2 separate regions of the Homo sapiens genome follow, and region 2 is linked to region 1. The links are contacts of gene promoters, found by promoter capture Hi-C in human tissues and cell types (Jung and others, 2019). All regions are on one chromosome and are shown on one strand. The core of a region is centred on a gene start or on the middle of the fragment in contact, and the rest is flanking DNA. Distances in the headings are between cores, read along the strand shown.

What was found. The method cuts DNA at HindIII sites, captures the fragments that hold promoters and counts their contacts. A contact is called where the count stands out against the background at its distance.
Region 2: a fragment that was not itself captured here is called in contact with the fragment with the promoter of OR4A15 in region 1 in 1 of the 25 tissues and cell types used here (mesenchymal stem cells).

The regions. Positions count from the first base shown.
Region 1 is chr11:55,366,647-55,369,356 of GRCh38, reverse strand. It overlaps OR4A15 (olfactory receptor family 4 subfamily A member 15), which reads right to left and starts at 1,383. Exons shown (of 1, transcript NM_001005275.2): 1 at 439-1,383. The coding sequence starts at 1,383. The coding sequence ends at 439. The HindIII fragment of the contact is 5,098 bases long and covers 1-2,422 here.
Region 2 is chr11:55,329,549-55,332,258 of GRCh38, reverse strand. No RefSeq gene overlaps it. Among named protein-coding and RNA genes, the nearest start is that of OR4A16, 12 kb to the left of the region's middle. The HindIII fragment of the contact is 3,441 bases long and covers 1-2,710 here.

The DNA of each region.
Region 1 (2,710 bases), core at 134-2,633:
CCACACACAAAAAATCAATGTTGGGGAGGTGACAGATATATTCATTAGACTGATGAAATCTTTCTATAATGTATACATAGATCAGAACATCACATTGTACTCCATAAATATACCCAATTATTGACAATTTAAAATACATAAAAAAGAAAAATAAATAAATGATTTTTAAATAAAAAAGAGCTTGAAATAAAACTAAATATTGTTATCAACCAAAGAATCTTAACACAGTATGATTACAAAAACAGTACACACTGTTAAACCTATGCAATTTTCTTGGTCTGTAATGGGTGTAACATATTACACCTAGACAAATATTAATTTATATGACTGCTTCAGAATAAGTAAGCTAAAAAACTAAAAGGAAATGATAACAGAAATGTAATCAGATAGGATAGTGAAATTGTTCCTTGCTTCTGTGAAAGAATGAATGTCACATTCTCATGAGTGATACAGCCATTTCCCAGCTAAGCTTACTTTTTTACTCCAAAGTTTCCTCATGGCACTTTTCATTTCTGCATTCTTCAGGGTATAGATTAGTGGGTTCAGCATGGGAGTTATAAAAGTTAGAACTACAGTCATGGATTTATCAATGGGAAAAGTAGAATTGGGCCTTGCATACAAGAAGATACAGGGGACAAAGAATAAAATGACCACAGTGACGTGGGATGCACAGGTGTAGAAAGCTTTTCGTTTCCCTTCCAAACTCTGAGTCTTAAGAGAGTGTAATATGACCCCATAGGAAAGCAGGATAGTGAAGAAGGTGACAGCACAAATCGCTCCTCCATTAGCTATCATAGAAAGCCCAGTGACATAGGTATTGGTGCAAGCAAGTTTCAATAAGGGATACAAATCACACAGGAAGTTGTCAATGACATTGGGTCCACAGAAAGGGAGCTGATAAATAAAGAGAAATTGAACCAATGAGTGAAGAAAGCCTCCAATCCAGGCCGCCAACAGCATAAGAACACAGACTCGACGATTCATGGTGATCAATTCATGAAGAGGCTTACAGATGGCCATGTATCGATCATAGGCCATTACCACCAGAAGAATGACTTCAGCACCAGCAAATAAATGATCCATAAAAAGTTGAGCCATACAACCCTGAAAGGAAATGGTCTTTTTCTCAGAGAGCAAGTCAACAATCATTTTGGGAGCAAATGCAGTAGAATAGACGGTATCTATGAATGATAAAGAAGCCAGAAAAAAGTACATGGGGGAACCCAGGGACTGGCTGGCCATGATGGTCACTATGATAAGCAGGTTGCCCATTATCGTCACCATGTAGATTAGTAAGAATGTGACAAATAAAACCTTTTGCCCCTCAGGGTTCTGTGTGAGCCCTAAGAGGATAAATTCAGTCACATTGTTCTTATTTTTCATGTGTTCTTCTGAAGGTGTTGGACTCAGGTGTCGGAGCCTACAAACAAAAGGGTCAGTGATAAATTTGAGATTATTTGTCAGAAGCTCCATGTCAAAAATGTGATGCCTTATCGACCACGTTTTCCCTGACCAGGGCCTCACACAGAGCAGCTCATTAGAAAAGAAGTGTTTAGAATATCCTCCCACAATTATCCTTTTCATTTTTACAAATGGGACATGGATGAAGCGGGAAACCATCATTCTCAGCAAACTATCACAAGAACAGAAAACAAAACACTGCATGTTCTCATTCATAAGTGGGAGTTGAACAAGGAGAACACATGGACACAGGGAGGGGAACATCACACACCGGGGCCTGTTGGGGAGTGGGGAGCTAGGGGAGTGATAGCATTAGGAGAAATACGCTATGCAGGTGATGGGTTGATTGGTGCAGCAAATCAGCATGGCACATGTGTACCTATGTAACAAAGCTGCACATTCTGCACATATACTCCAGAACTTAAAGTATAATTTTAAAAAAAGAATTTTAAAAAATACAAATGTATTGCTTTAACTGCAATGATGAGGCTTCATGATTTTAACTGGAAGGTATATGTGAGTGAATATATATGTGAGATAATCTATTACAGATCAAAATAGAGCTGCTTTCTTGAGAACATCCCTTAAAAAGACTGTATTTTTGATATTTATATAGTATTTATCTTTTTTTGAACAGATTTTGTCCTTCCATGATCTATCAAGAAAACAGCCTCATATGTGTTGACTTTACTTATATATTTATGTAAAGTAGTACCCAGTATATGGAGCATAAGATTACAGGCTAATGTTTAGATATTTGCCATTCTGAAACACTGTACTGTGAGCTCCTAGAATCCAGGAATAACTCGCTCAAAGAACCAGACACATTGTGAGTGCTCACTAAATGTTTATTAAATTTTATTAAACCAAATTTCAAAGCTCAGAGAGCAAGTATGTGGAAATAAATGTATTAAAATCTTGCCAGCCATGAAAGTCCAATGAAAGCAAAGTTTTATTTGAAAAGAAACTACACACACACACACACATATACACACACACACACACTGAATTTTCATCTATTACAACGTAGGTCATTAGAGGAAAAAAACAGGTAATACAAATCAAAGTCGGGGGGCAATGCAGAGACATTTTCCCCACTTTTCGCATTTGTTTAAGACTGATCATGGCTAATTACAGATTAATTTGGAATGTCAAAAATAAAGACTCCAGGCAAAATCATGGTGTAGTAGAAATAATTCTATACTAAAAATCTGAAAATATTAGTTGATTTTGAGCTTAGTCATCTCAG
Region 2 (2,710 bases), core at 130-2,629, 37 kb after region 1:
CCTTCAAAAAATCAATGAATCCAGGAGCTGGTTTTTGGAAAGATCAACAAAATTGATAGACCACTAGCAAGACTAATAAAGAAGAAAATACAGAAGAATCAAATAGATGCAATACAAAATGATAAAAGGGATATCACCCCCAATCCCACAGAAATACAAACTACCATCAGAGAATACTATAAACACCTCTACACAAATAAACTAGAAAATCTAGAAGAAACGGATAAATTCCTCGACACATACACCCTCCCAAGACTAAACCAGGAAGAAGTTGAAACCCTGAATAGACCAATAACAGTCTCTAAATAATTTGTAGACTACCAACCAAAAAAAGTCCAGGAACAGATGGATTTACAGCCGAATTCTATGCGAGGTACAAAGAGGAGCTGGTAACATTCCTTCTGAAACTATTCCCATCAATAGAAAAGGAGGGAATCGTCCCTAACTCATTTTATGAAGCCAGCATCATACTTATAACAAAGCCTAGCAGAGACACAACAAAAAAAAGAGAATTTTACACCAATATCCCTGATGAACATTGATGCAAAAATCCTCAATACGATACTGGCAAACTGAATCCAGCAGCACATCAAAAAGCTTATCCACCATGATCAAGTGGGCTTCATCCCTGGGATGCAAGGCTGGTTCAACATATGCAAATCAATAAATGTAATCAATGATATAAACAGAACCAAAGACAAAAACACATGACTATCTCAATAGATTCAGAAAAGGCCTTTGACAAAATTCAACAGCACTTCATGCTAAAAACTCTCAATAAGTTAGGTTTTGATGGAACGTATCTCAAAATAATAAGAGCTCTTTATGACAAACCCACAGCAAATACCATACGGAATGGGAAAAAGCTGGAAGCATTCCCTTTGAAAACTGGCACAAGACAGGGATGTCCTCTCTCACCACTCCTATTCAACATAGTGTTGGAAGTTCTGGCCAGGGCAATTAGGCAGGAGAAGGAAATAAATGGTATTCAATTAGCAAAAGAGGAAGTCAAATTGTCCCTGTTTTCAGATGATATGATTATATATTTAGAAAACCCCATAGTCTAAGCCCAAAATTTCCTTAAGTAGATAAGCAACTTCAGCAAAGTGTCAGGATACAAAATCAATGTGCAAAAATCACAAGCATTCCTATACACCAATAACAGACAAATAGAGAGCCAAATCATGAGTGAACTCCCATTCACAATTGCTTCAAGGAGAATAAAATATCTAGAAATCCAAGTTACAAGGGATGTGAAGGACTTCTTCAAGGAGAACTACAAACCACTGCTCAACAAAATAAAAGAGGACACAAACAAATGGAAGAACATTCCACGCTCATGGATAGGAAGAATCAATATTGTGAAAATGGCCATATTGCCCAAGGTAATTTATAGATTCAATGCCATCCCCATCAAGTTACCAACGACTTTCTTCACAGAATTGGAAAAAACTACTTTAAAGTTCATATGGAGCCAAAAAAAGCCCGCATTGCCAAGACAATCTTAAACCAAAAGACCAAAAATGGAAGCATCATGCTACCTGACTTCAAACTATACTACAAGGCTACAGTAACCAAAATAGCATGATACTGGTACCAAAACAGAGATATAGACCAATGGAACAGAACAGAGGCCTTAGAAATAACACTGCACATCTACAACCATCTGATCTTTGACAAACCTGACAAAAACAAGCAATGGGGAAAGGATTCCCTATTTAATAAATGGTGCTGGGAAAACTGGCTAGCCATATGTAGAAAGCTGAAAGTGGATGCCTTCCTTACACCTTATAGAAAAATTAATTCAAGATGGATTAAAGACTTAAATGTTATACCTAAAAGCATAAAGAGCCTAGAAGAAATCCTAGGCAACACCATTCAGGACATAGGCATGGGCAAGGACTTCATGTCTAAAACACCAAAAGCAATGGCAACAAAAGCCAAAATTGACAAATGGGATCTAATTAAACTAAAAAGCTTCTGCACAGCAAAAGAAACTACCATCAGAGTGAATAGGCAACCTACAGAATGAGAGGAAAATTTTGCAATCTACCCATCTGACAAAGGACTAATATCCAGAATCTACAATGAACTCAAACAAATTTACAAGAAAAAAATCAAACCACCCCATCAAAAAGTGGGCAAAGGATATGAATAGACACTTCTCAAAGGAAGACATTTATGCAGCCAACAGACACATGAAAAAATGCTCATCATCACTGGTCATCAGAGAAATGCAAATCAAAGCCACAATGAGATACCATCACACACCATTTACAATGGCAATCATTTAAAAGTCAGGAAACAACAGATGCTGGAGAAGATGTGGAGAAATAGGAACACTTTTACACTGTTGGTGGGACTGTAAACTAGTTCAACCATTTTGGAAGAGAGTGTGGTGATTCCTCAAGGATCTAGAGCTAGGAATACCATTTGACCCAGCAATACAATTACTGGGTATATACCCAGAGGATTATAAATCATGCTACTATAAAGAGACATGCACACATATGTTTACTGCGGCACTATTCACAATAGCAAAGATTTGGCACCAACTCAAATGTCCATCAATGATAGACTGGATTAAGAAAATGTGGCACATATACACCATGCAATATTATACAGCGTAAAAAGGATGAGTTCATGTCCTTTGCAGGGACATTGATGAAGCTGGAAACCATCATTCTCAGCAAACTATCACAAGGACAGA